Regions from separate parts of the Homo sapiens genome. Here all the other regions are linked to region 1. The links are contacts of gene promoters, found by promoter capture Hi-C in human tissues and cell types (Jung and others, 2019). All regions are on one chromosome and are shown on one strand. Each heading gives the region's core, a stretch centred on a gene start or on the middle of the fragment in contact. The rest is flanking DNA. Distances are from core to core; before and after follow the strand shown.

The links. The method cuts DNA at HindIII sites, captures the fragments that hold promoters and counts their contacts. A contact is called where the count stands out against the background at its distance.
Region 2: a fragment that was not itself captured here is called in contact with the fragment with the promoter of GINS1 in region 1 in 2 of the 25 tissues and cell types used here (dorsolateral prefrontal cortex and spleen).
Region 3: a fragment that was not itself captured here is called in contact with the fragment with the promoter of GINS1 in region 1 in 1 of the 25 tissues and cell types used here (lymphoblastoid cells).
Region 4: a contact is called between a fragment that was not itself captured here and the fragment with the promoter of GINS1 in region 1, in 1 of the 25 tissues and cell types used here (IMR-90 fibroblasts).

The regions. Positions count from the first base shown.
Region 1 is chr20:25,406,138-25,409,260 of GRCh38, reverse strand. It overlaps GINS1 (GINS complex subunit 1), which reads right to left and starts at 1,588. Exons shown (of 7, transcript NM_021067.5): 1 at 1,366-1,588. The coding sequence starts at 1,440. It overlaps LOC105372581 (a long non-coding RNA gene), which reads left to right and starts at 966. Exons shown (of 3, transcript XR_937403.3): 1 at 966-1,190. RefSeq lists enhancers at 442-1,199, 1,297-1,546. The HindIII fragment of the contact is 13,310 bases long and covers 1-3,123 here.
Region 2 is chr20:25,855,756-25,858,878 of GRCh38, reverse strand. No RefSeq gene overlaps it. Among named protein-coding and RNA genes, the nearest start is that of FAM182B, 61 kb to the right of the region's middle. The HindIII fragment of the contact is 6,623 bases long and covers 1-3,123 here.
Region 3 is chr20:24,963,734-24,966,856 of GRCh38, reverse strand. APMAP (adipocyte plasma membrane associated protein) reads left to right here. Exons shown (of 9, transcript NM_020531.3): 9 at 2,835-3,123. The coding sequence ends at 3,044. Among named protein-coding and RNA genes, the nearest start is that of CST7, 16 kb to the right of the region's middle. The HindIII fragment of the contact is 7,885 bases long and covers 1-3,123 here.
Region 4 is chr20:25,011,377-25,014,499 of GRCh38, reverse strand. ACSS1 (acyl-CoA synthetase short chain family member 1) reads left to right here. Exons shown (of 14, transcript NM_032501.4): 9 at 427-539; 10 at 838-964; 11 at 1,561-1,688; 12 at 1,836-1,899. Among named protein-coding and RNA genes, the nearest start is that of APMAP, 20 kb to the right of the region's middle. The HindIII fragment of the contact is 3,542 bases long and covers 1-3,123 here.

The DNA.
Region 1 (3,123 bases), core at 339-2,838:
AAAATTACCCTATCACTTCCTTGTCTAAAATCCTCTACCAGCTCCCAGCATGCCTTATAAGTGAACAACAAATTCATGTAGGCTGTGAGCCACCTTCCTAGACTCCCCACAGGCCCTATTGGTCACCCTCTCCAGTGTGACCACGTGACTTTGTGCTGCAGCATCCTTTGGCTGGGATGCCTCGCTTCCTTCTCAGATCAGTAACCTCATCCTTGAGGATGGAAAGGCTCATATATCACCTCTTCTACCCCAGCTCATACTGGTGTTTCTCCTTCGTGCTCCTTGCTATACCTCCTTAGTATCACTTAGCGTGGTGAATTCTATTATCTGTTTTTGTGCCCATCTTCCAGCAGAATGTGTCCTGACATCCACATAATGCCTGCTCTATGACGTAAGTGAAATATACAATTTAGAGTGCAGGCTCTGGAGCCAGAGTGCCAGGGTTCAAATCCTAGCTTTCTTGCTGTGTCACCTTAGGCAATATACTTAAATCTCCCCAATCCTATGCATATATAGCTGAAAAAAGTAGAAAACAATAGTTTAAACATCAAAAAGTTATTTTTGTTTTGTTTGGGACAGGGTCTCCCTGTCACTCAGGCTGGAATGCAGTGGCAGGATCAAGCGATCCTCCCGCCTCAGCCTCCCAAAGTGCTGGGATTACAGGCAGGAGCCATGGTACCGGGCCCTCAAAGGGTTATTAGAAAGACAAAAGATAATGTACATGAAGTGCTTAGCACTCTCCCTGGGGTAGCAGTGATAGAAAAATACAAATAATCATAATATTAATAGTAACAGCAGCAGCAGGAGAAAAGTAATATTAATAGCTAACACTGACTCAGCCCTTACTGTATGTGAGGCATATGCAGAGACCCTTACACATGCCACTCATTTTGCGTCCACTACATCATGCGTTGGGTACTATTATTGTCACCATCCCCATTTTTGCGTATGAGAAAACTGAGAGCACAGAAAGCTTGAGTAACTGCCCCAAAGTCACACTACAGAACCAGAATCTCAGCCAGGTTCCAGAGGCCTAGCTTTTACTGACCACGATTAGATGCCTGAGTGAGCAAGAAATGCTAAATTATCAGGCAACCTGTAAATATTTTAAGGGACCGGAACAAATCTGTCCAAGGAAAACTGCTAAAATGCAAAATTTGCTCAGATGAGGAAATTCACCAAATCGCTGGGTAGCGTAAGCATGAATGCTTTCTCTTTCCTCCTGAATTTTGTTTTGCTGCTTCCCAAGTTTTCCGGAGCTCGGAGGGAACAAGGTGCGAAAGTGAACCCTGACGGGGAGCCGCCCCGCCCCAGAGCCCAGGGCCCAACGCCGGCATGCCCCGTCCAAGTCTACCCGCCCCTCACGTTGAAGGCAGGCAGTTGCCCTTCGGGCGCGCGATGCAGCTCGCGGATCAGTTCCATGGCTTTTTCGCAGAACATGGCGGACGCTTCCCACTCCCGCGGCCTTGCCAACCACCAGCTCTCACGCCAAAATGGTATCTGGGCTCTCGGCGCCTCACTCCTTTCGTTCTAGTCCTACAGCGCCAGGCTCTCGCCTCGGCCTCCGCTCCGCGCTTTGGCGCCGAACAAAGCTAGCCAATAGGAACGCGCCTACGGCGCCCGAAAAGGGACATCCACCGCTCAGCCGCATTCCAAGAGGGGCGGAGTGGGAGGGGTCTTTCCAAGGTGAGGTCCCCGCCCCGGAGATGGCAGAACCCCTCGGCTGAGCAGAGACGGCTTTTCCAGTTCTCAGGCAGTGGGCCGGGGGACTCTACGGGCAGCAGAGCTGGAAATAAATGCACGCCCCGCAGCTTCCTTGTCATTTTCCTTTTGATTCATTCATTCTCGTTTAGGTTCAAGAAAAGAGCACTTTGAGGTTAAGAGGAAAGGCCCAAAAACTTGGTGTGCATTGGTAGGACGCAAGGGTTTCAGTTTTGCAGTGCGGGTTTTCTGTTTGATATTAAAATGAAACTCTCTTTTATTGGGTACCTAGTGCTGGTAGGGACTGCAGTGTGTATTTCATTCCCACAATTATCTCTGAAGTGTTTTAAGACCCGGGATTAATAAGGAAACAGAAGTTAGGTAACTTGCCCAAGGTCACACAGCTCCAGAGTGATTAGACTGTTATTTAGGCTTTCCATTTCCAACACCACAGTACCACCCTTTGATTTTAAAATAGTCTTTTAAAAATATTTGTAATATCTGCCCTAGATTAATACGAATTCACTAGGAATTTTCTTGGCTAGATGGTTATGGAATATTTCTTAAGCATATGGAAGATGGGAATCACTGCTAAAGAATTGTTTTATTAGGCAATTTTTCAAAAAGCAATGTTAATTTCTAACAAGCAATCTTGGATTTTTTTTTTTTTGAGATGGAGTCTCGCTCTGTCGCCCAGGCTGGAGTGCAGTGGCGCGAACTCGGCTCACTGTAAGCTCCGCCTCCCGGGTTCACGCCATTCTCCTGCCTCAGCCTCCCGAGTAGCTGGGACTACAGGCGCCCGCCACCACGCCCAGCTAATTTTTTGAATTTTTTAAGTATAGACGGGGTTTCACCGTGTTAGCCAGGACGGTCTCAATTTCCTGACCTCGTGATCCGCCCACCTCGGCCTCCCAAAGTGCTGGGATTACAGGCATGAGCCACCGCAACCGGCGCAATCTTGGATTAATTCTAGCTAACCCTAGAAACTATGTTGATCTTTTGCAAATATACAGTAGATATGTCATCTAAGGAATGGGCATGGGAATGGCCTACTCAGGCTTATGTTGAATAATGACATTGCCTTTTTTTTTTGGAGACAGGGTCTTAACTCCCGTTACCCAGGTGGAGTGCAGTGGCGCCATCTCAGCTCACTGCAGCCTCCACTTCCCGGGCTGAGGTAATTTTCCCCCCTCAGCCCTCTGAGTAGCTGGGACTACAGGCTCAGGCCACCACACCTGGCTATTTTGTATTTTAAGTAGAGACAGGGTTTCACCATGTTGGCCAGTCTGGTCGACAACTCTTGAGCTCAAGGGATCCGTCCGCCTGGGCCTCCCAAAGTGCTGGAATTACAGCGTGAGCCACCGCACCCAGCAAACATTGCCTTTTTGAAACCGCCTTTGAAAAAATTATAATAGAGAAAAT
Region 2 (3,123 bases), core at 224-2,723, 450 kb before region 1:
CTGTAAAGGGCGGTCTGCTTTCCGTAGCCCCAGGTCTTTTAGAAGCGGGTCAGGCCCCTGCTCTTTCAAAGGAGGAGGGAGGCAGAGGCCTGAGGGATCAATGAATTTGCAGCTGACACTAGGTCTTGAGACTTATGGGATCATTCTGTGCTGCAGCGAGGCGCTGCCTGCCTCACCAGATGTGGTGAGCCCATCCTATCTCACTCGGAGTGGGCCAAAATCGGATCTGAAGGGGAGTCCTGAGAACACAGCAGGCGTCCTGATGTCCCCCTCCCTCGGTGGAAGTCAGCTCAAGGTGGTCCTGAGGACAGGATTCCTCGGGGTTTGGCCCTGGGACACGACAAGACACCCGCGGCCCTCTCTCTCACGCCGCCCCAACTGGACCCCGGATCCAGCCACCGCGGCGGATGCAGCAGGAGCCTCGCTGCCCCAGCGCAGCGGCGGCGTTATTTAAAGGGGACGCAGCCTGCCTGTGAGGAGCGTAGCGCGAGTTGGCCCTGACAATGCGCATGCGCGAGGCGCGAGCTTCTTTTGCCCTCACAGTGGTTCCCACGGTTTTCTTAGAAACCACTCCCTGAGGCTTGGCAAAGCAGGAGCCCTCCGTGGCAGTGCTTGTGTGTCGGGGCTCTGAGGCTCTGGCCTGACCTCTCCACCGGGTCGACGGGAACGTCTCCGGATGCCAGGAGTCTCAAAGGGCCGACCAGGATGAGGAAACCCCAGGGGGAGTCCGGGGATAGCAGCACGGCATCCCAGCTTCAGGCCTGCCATGACGGTGTGGGTTGGGGTGAGTCTCCCCAAAAGTCGTGCCGCCGTCCGTGATCTCGACGACAGGTCGGCCTGCCTGCCCCTGGGGTGCTCTCTCACAGGAGGGTCGTTCTCGTCGAGAGCCGATCCCCGCAGACTCAGGGTTTGCCTGGGTGTGTGCGTTTCAATGCCTCTCCTGAATGACATTGTGTGTGTGTGTGTGTGTGTGTGTGTGTGTGTGTGTGTGTGTGTCTGTGTGTGTTTCTCCCATTCTCTCTTCTCTCTCTGTCTCTCAGTCTCTGTGTGTTTCTTTCCCTCTCTCAGTGGGTTGTGTGTGTGTGCCCGTGTGCGTGTGTGTCTTTGGCAGAATGTGCCCTGTGCGCCACAAAGCGGTTTCTCGCATGGCGGCCTGTCTTTGGTGACCCTCTTTCTGCGTCTCTGCCTTTGTCATGAGGCCGGTTGTCAATCGTTTTCGCCGCCCCGGATCCGCTTTGGGTGTGTGAAGTCCTGGCCTACGTGAAGAGATGCATGGGTCCGGGAGCAATTGAAATCTCATCCCCATCCTGAGCGGCCTCTCTCCTAAGATCAAAATGATCACACTGCAGCCGAGGACAAGAGCCCCACAGGAGCTCTTTGTCCCGCAGGAGAGCAGCGGACCCACGTCAGAGAAGATGCTTGTATCTTTTCACGGCTCTTCTCTGAGAAATGAAGCCACACCATGATACAGTCTGCAAGAGGAAGCCGGGAATGAGAGATGGCAACAATCCCTGTCACTGGAACGGTGACCTCGCTGGACAAGCCACCCTTTTGGAACCCCTCCCCTTATGCCTGTGGCGGTGGCATGGTGCTATATCCGGCCTGGGCTCCGGCCTCTGCTCTCTCCTCCCTCTTGCTCTGTCCTCCCTCTGCTCTGTTCTCCCTCTTGCTCCTTCTGCTCTGTCCTCCCTCTTGCTCTGCCTCCCCTGTCCTAGATGCCTCTCGCTCTGGCCACATGTCTTCCCTGTCCGTTAGGGACTTCCCAGTGCTTGACTTCCCAGTCTGTCCGGGAGACATTTCCTGGAGATCCCTGTTATGATTGTTTCTCTCTCCAAACCTCTTTCTGCTTGATTGGGCAGATCTCGTGACCGTGGAGCTCTTTGCTCCCATAAGTGTCTCAGACAGGAAAGCTTGCTTCTTCTCCATGTTTCCATTCATGGGTGGGTGGATTGCCTAGAATGAGCGCTAGGAGACCGGGACTGGCCTTGTCTTCTAGCACAGGTGGTGTCGCATTTCCTCTGCACTTCCTGTCTCATTCTCGAGGGACATCCTCTCCTCTTCTCATGGGTGGACTGTCTCCCTGGATCTTTTGGCCTTAACGAATGTCAGGGAAACAAGGGGACTGGGCTCGGTCTTGGGCTGGGGCTGGGGCTGGGGCTGGTGTTGGGGCTGGGGCTTGGTGCACAGGACGTTGTGTGAGGGCTACATGGGCGATGGAGCTTTGGCGTTGGGGTGAAATTTGCAGAACCCTCTTTGCTCCTCTGGCAGCAATTTCAAATTTTGTATCCGGTCAGTCACAAGCCCCCTCCTGGTTCCCAGGTGTTCTTTAAGTTTTCATTGCTGTGATGGAAATGTCACTTGTCCCCCCCTTCCACCGGGCACATGCTTAGACACCACCGTTTGTTTCGCCGTCGCCCCACATTCCTCTGGTTACACACATCCACGCCATCTGCTGTGGGATGGGCCACAGCCACACGTCATCGCATGGTCTCCACCTGGGATTCGCCCTTGTTCCTTTTTGCACGTGTCCTGTAAATTGCGGTTGGCTTCCGGAGCCCCATGGCTTTTAGAAGCCGGGCAGGCCAGTGCTCTTTCAAAGGAGAAGGGAGGCAGAGGGCTGATGGATCAGTGAATTTTCAGCTGACACCACGCCTTGAAACCCATGGGATCATTCTATGCTGCAGCGATGCCCTGCCTGCCTCAACAGATGTGGTGAGCCCATCCTATCTCACTCGGAGGGGGCCAAAATCGGATCTGAAGGGGAGTCCCGAGAACCCAGCAGACATCCTGTAGCTCTCCCTCCCTTGGTGGGAGTCGGCTCAAGGAGGTCCTGAGGACAGGACTTCTGGGGGTTTCGCCCTGGGACAGGACACCGGCCACAGCCTCTACCAGGCCGCTGCAAACTTTACCCTGGATCCAGTCGCTGCCGAGGCTGCAACAGGAGCCCATCTGCTACCGCGCAGTAGCCATTGTTTAAAGGGGCAGCTGCCTGCCGTCCAGCACCGGAGCTTTAGTCGGCCCAGCCAGTGTGCCTCCGCGTGGCTCTAGCTGATTGTCTCGTCACAGTGATTTCCACTGTTGTCTTAGTATCCAGTCCCTGAATTTTGGCATAGCAGGAGTTCT
Region 3 (3,123 bases), core at 385-2,884, 440 kb after region 1:
CCTTCATTACCACTGAGTGAAACCAGGAGATGCCCACAGCTCCCCTGTGACTGTCCGGTCTGCAGGCCCCATTCAGATTTTGCCAGTTGTCCCGGTGTTGTCCTTTATAACAAATGATTCAACCCAGGATCAGGAGTGGTGTTTAGTTGTCAGCTGTTTAATCTCCTTCAGTCTGGGGGATATTCAGCTCCTGTCTTTTTTTGAATTTTTGGCCTTGATCCTTTGAAAGCGTACAGGTCAGCTGTGTCCCAGAATGTCCCTCCAGTAGGGTTTGTTTTTCATATTTAGATTCTGCTCTCGCATCGTTGGCAGCAGTGGCGCAGCAGTGAAGCTGTGCTCATCTTGGCGCGGCTGTCATGAGGGCGCGATACCAGTTTGCTCTGTTGGGGTGGTGGCAACTTTGGCCACCTGATTCAGGCAGGGAATGCCAGGTGTCTCCACCTGGACGTGGTTCTTTCATGTCTAATTACTGAGTTGCTCGCAGAGAGGTGGTTTTTGTAAGTAATCACCAGTGCCATCTTATGGTTTCCCATGTTCTTAATGGTGATTATGTTACAGTCATCATTGATTTTGATGCTCAAATTACCCATCTGTGGCCAGGAGGAGCCCCTTCAGTGTGGCTTCTGGGCCTTTGGGCATGTCCTCTTGTCTTGGGCTAGCTCCTCACTTTCCAGCACATAAGTCGTTCCAGTTTCCTCTTGTATTGTCCCTGCTTCAGCTCTGCAATCGGCCATTTCTCCCAGGAGCCCTGGTTCCTTGTGGAGGAGATCTGGGTGCTGAGTGTACTCGCTGCTTTGGGTGTCGCTGCTCCCAGGTCCCTAAGGGACAACGCTGGGAGTACAAGCACACGATGCATACTCACATATACCTGCACGCGTAGACATCACACACACACACCACTCACGCTTATGCCTGCATCTGTCATCTGTAAATTGAAAACCATGACAACACCACAGGACTGATCCAAGTTTTCTCCCCTTATTTTTCCCCCTATTTGTACCTCTCCAACAGTGAGAAACCTGGATCCCATTGTCCTCCCTAGGTTTACCTGTTCAACCATTTTCTGTGCATGTGACCAATCTGTGGTTGCTGTGCCCTGTCACATGGCCCCATCCAGGGCTGTAGCACCCCATGCTGGGCTGTCCCCTTCCTCCCTGACCATGTGCTGGAGGCTGCCTTTCGCCTCAAGGGCTGTGATCCCTGCACCGGGCTGTCCCTGGGTGTACACCTCCTCACTTGCATGGGCTCTCACAGCCTGATCTGGGCCTCACTGTGGGGACACCTCCTCACCCCGTGTGGGCCCTGACAGCCCGTGCCAGGCCACTCCCCTGCAGGGACACCTCCTCACCCAAGCGGAGTGGGCTTGTCTGGGTCACCATGGTCTGCCATCCCCTGCACACATGTACCCTGCTCAGCCCCATGCTCCTGATGGAGTTGTTTAGGAGGGGAGTGATGTAGTACAAAGAATGTTTTTAAAGAGAACTGCAGCTACTGCAAGGAGAACAGCTTGCAGCAGGGCTCAGCTGGCTGTGGGAGCCTGTGTGGAAGCTGTCTCAGTGACTGGGGAGAGGCGGCAGGGCAGGGCCCAGGCCAGGGACACACACAACAGATGGCAAGACTGGCAGCTGGGCTTGTAGGGCACAGAGAGACTGGGATCAAGGGAAGGCTGGGGTCCTGGCCCTGTCTCCAGAGCTGGGGAGGCTGTTGAATTTGAAGTGCTATTAGAAAGGCCAGGCAGACATGGGTCCCAGACAGTGAGAAACTTAGCACTGGTGTTGGAGATGGCGATTTGAGAGCTTTCTGGGAAAGTGACTAGTTGTAATAGTGAGAGAGGATGAGATCTCTTAGGGGGAAGAGAGAAGAGAGGAGAGTGGGAAGGATCCACGGCCGAACAGCAGGAGATGGCATTTCCTAGGTAGTGGGAAGCCTTGGGAATTTTTTGAGCTGTAATGCAGTTGATCTATCGCTGTTGAACCTAGAGTCTAGTCAGCTTGTCTGTCTGCTTGAACATTTCCAGTGACTGGGAGACATTATTCGTTGGACACTTGTTTGGGTATTTTCCCTTGTATTAAAAGCTAGAAATCTGTCTGTTAATTTCCATTCCTTGGTCTTAGGCAGTGGAGTGCTTTGTCATAATTTCCGACCAGGTGTCCTTCTGCTCTGCCAGAAATCACGCCTCTCGCCATCTGTTCTCTGCTTAATACTCTTCAACAGTCCCGTGTGACCACAGAGTCCAGGTCTAAGCTCTTTTGCCTCCGTCCCTGTAGGCGTCCCTCAGGATCTGCACGCCCCGCTTTGAGGAAAGCAGTGGGATTTTGCTTTTTGTTTTGGAAGCCATGTTGTGTGGTCTGTGGACCTGCTTGCTTTTTTTGAATGTGAGCTGCTCTCAAATCTCCATCATTTGCACCTTGCCTATTTGAAATGTTTTAAATCTAAACAGAAGACTTGTGTATTCCAGGGAAGCTGCGCTGGTTGTGATCTGGTGAGTGGAGGTCATTCTGAGCCTTGGCTGCAGTGCTGTGACCACGTCGGATGTGATATGTCTCTCTCAGTTCAGCCAGGCCATCCAGAGATGTGCTTGCGTTGCTGTCCTTGTGCTGGGGAGCCTCTTTGGCCTGATCTTCACAGGGACAGGGGTGGGGTGGGGCCTGCTTTGGGGCCCCTGGGCTGGGAGTGGGAGCTGGATTAGCTGTCCTGTGGGGCACTGCCCTGTGGGGCTGCCCTGTCATGGGAAGGAGTCAGACCGTTCCTGGATGGTGGGGGCGGCACGGTTGATCTGCGCACAGTGTTCTTGGCCAGCTGGTGAACTTTCCCTGCACTGTGCTTCCCTCTAGCTCTTTAGTCAAGAGACGGTGATGAAGTTTGTGCCGCGGTACAGCCTCGTCCTAGAACTCAGCGACAGCGGTGCCTTCCGGAGAAGCCTGCATGATCCCGATGGGCTGGTGGCCACCTACATCAGCGAGGTGCACGAACACGATGGGCACCTGTACCTGGGCTCTTTCAGGTCCCCCTTCCTCTGCAGACTCAGCCTCCAGGCTGTTTAGCCCTCCCAGATAGCTGCCCCTGCCACGCAGGCCAGGAGTCTTCACACTCAGGCACCAGGCCTGGTCCAGGAGGAGCTGT
Region 4 (3,123 bases), core at 228-2,727, 390 kb after region 1:
GAGTCACTGGGGCATTTCCCTGGTACAGGCTGGAAATAATGTGAGGGTAGGATTTGAGAGCATCTTTTTTCGTTGTTGGGTTCATGTCAAATGGGCGCTGGCCCAGAAGCAGTTCTTTTTCTCCGTCTTCATGTGCAAGTGGGTGGGCTCTGCCCTTTCCCACTTCAAGCAAGGGCCTGACATGGCGAGGGGGCCTGCACCTGGCTGTGGGATGCCAGAGCTCCTGGGGCTGAGGCCACTGTGGGGCCGCCTCTCATATCCACAGTGGAGGGCACCAGACCCACATCTGGTTTGCCTCAAAGATCGTTGTGCCCCTGAGGCGTTTCCTTGCCCACAACAGGGACAGTCCCACCTACCACCCACTCTGGATACACGTATCCCTGGGTCCGGGGCCGATTATGCATTTCTTTCTTGTCATACCTGCAGAAACAGGTGGCATCTGCATCGCACCACGGCCCTCGGAAGAAGGGGCGGAAATCCTCCCTGCCATGGCGATGAGGCCCTTCTTTGGCATCGTCCCCGTCCTCATGGATGAGAAGGTGTGTATGGGCCTCCCCCACATGGGGGTCATGTGCTTGCCCTCCCTTGTCCCTGCCTGCCCAGCCCAGCTCTCTCCTGTGTGCCCAGGTCTGTACCTGGCAGGAGGCTGCTGACCTTGCAGCGTTCACTGCAGCTGGTATCATGCACTGGGTAGTGGCCACACAGGTGGCTTGGGGCCCTCCTCAGGGGCAGAGGGGAGAGCTATGGACAGCTCCCTTGAGGGCAGGGCTTGTCATTTTTTGGCACACTTCTCACCCAGAGCCTGCCCTGTCTCACTTGCATGTCCGGGGTCTACAGGGCAGCGTCGTGGAGGGCAGCAACGTCTCCGGGGCCCTGTGCATCTCCCAGGCCTGGCCGGGCATGGCCAGGACCATCTATGGCGACCACCAGCGATTTGTGGACGCCTACTTCAAGGCCTACCCAGGTGAGCAGGCTGTCAGGGACCCTCTCATTCCTTTTCAGCTGACTGCTGGAATCTTATTCTCAGAAAACATTTTTAATGGGATTTGAGTGCAGCGTAACACTGTGGCCAGGAATAGGTGCTCGCGAGGCCAGAGTTTGACTCCGCACCCCTCTCCCTTTGCTGTACCTCCCTGGCTTTCCTTATCTTGACAGTGGGAGTGATTCCCCACTCGGGGACTTTCTTGGGGCTACTTAGGTGTGGGTGTGAAGTCCTGCACTGCAGCCAGGCCCATGGTAGGATCCTGTTAGCTACGGCTGGGAGTTTTCTTCCAGTTTACTTTTATTTTTTCCCAGTTTCCCTTTTTGTCGTAAACAAGACTCAGTGTTTTGGAGAAGCATCTTGGATGTGCTGCTTGTATACCTTCTGCTCCCCAAAGTCTCGATATCTCGGAGCCACCTGCCCATGCTCTAGAACATAGGGAAGCATCGGAGTTGCAAGGAGGGCCGATGGGCGAGACTTCAGCCGCGTGCTGGGCTGCAGAGCTTCACGCTTACTGAGGTTGGGACATGGGTCCTGGCTCAGGGTTCCTGGTGCTGAATTTCCCTGCTGTGGTGCAGGCTATTACTTCACTGGAGACGGGGCTTACCGAACTGAGGGCGGCTATTACCAGATCACAGGGCGGATGGATGATGTCATCAACATCAGTGGCCACCGGCTGGGGACCGCAGAGATTGAGGACGCCATCGTGAGCACAGGCTGGGCCTCCTCCTTCACTCCTACACCTCCATGATGCCCCTGTGGACCTGCAAGTTGGGGTGGGAGTCCCTGGCCCGAGTCACTTCTAGCACCCGGGGCCGCCACATTTTGCCCTTTTGTTCTCTGTTGTACACAGGCCGACCACCCTGCAGTACCAGAAAGTGCTGTCATTGGCTACCCCCACGACATCAAAGGAGAAGGTGAGTGTCCTGGAGATGAGCTCCTCCCTGATTCCTGACCCCACACCCATTATGGGCACCTCTGTACGAGGAGCAGACTCTGGAGAGTGGAGTGATAGGGGATACTGTGGGCCAAGCTCTCAGTGTTCTTCTCTCTCAAGTGGAAACTGTAGGGGAGGAGGCTGAATAGCACTCGTGTTCGGTCGGGTTTCTGAAATGCCCTGGTTCTGCTGTCCTTTCAGGACACACATCCACAGTGGCCATGACCCAGTTGGGCTTGGCTAAGCTTGGGGGGTTTCCCCTTCTGTCCATGGTGTATCTGGTGGGGACACCGTCCAGCCCCATTACAGAGAGTTTATGAGAAAATGTCCAGCCTCATGTATCCTCACGGGCTTGGTCATAGCACTCAAGCCAGCTCTGCAGCCGCCACGCGTGTGTGCCAGAGTGTGCTCTGGAGTGTGCAGGCTGTGTGCTGCGCTGGGACTCTTTGGACGAATCTGACCTGTGGTTCCCACTGCACAGCGACATGCTGGGGGAATGCAGAATGAGGGACTAGAATGGCCTTTACCAAGGCCACGCTTTGTTTCGAGTCTGCCAGCTTCTTGGTGGCTGGGTCTGGGAAGGGGCGGGAGCACCTAGGTGTTGCAATGCCAGGTCCATCCAGGCACACTGCCTGGCCTGGCGTGACCTGGACACACACTGACCCCATGCCAGGGCACTGCTGGGCAGACTGGCTTCTCCTGCCCTGCCCAGTGGCTTGGGGTCAGGCTTGCCCTCCCGCTGGGAGGCCACCCTGTGTCACAGTGTGTCCCAGATGTCACCTTCCTCCCTGCACTTCTATGTGCCGTTATTCCATTATTTACTTAAATGCTCTCTTTAAATTGACGCATTGCAAGATTGAGAATTTGTTTCAGTGCTTTACAAACAGCATTTTCAGTTGCCATGGAAAGGCTATGCTGGTAAGGCTGGGATGTGGGAGAGAGCTGGTAGGGACCCCTGCCCGGTGACATGTCCAGATGTGATCAGGAGGGTCAGAGAGGACGGAGACGAGGACAGTTTCTCAGGTGTGACTAGGGTAACTTAGTGCCCCCCTGAGGTTACCTCGCTCTGGCAGGAGCCTGGGCCCCTCCTCTGAGGACTCCTGCATTTCACATCTCTGGGCTGGGGGTCCACAGGGCACTGACGTGTCCTGGGATTTGAAAGCCCCATCTATGTCTGAGTCCAGTGGCTGAGCCAGTACTCCCT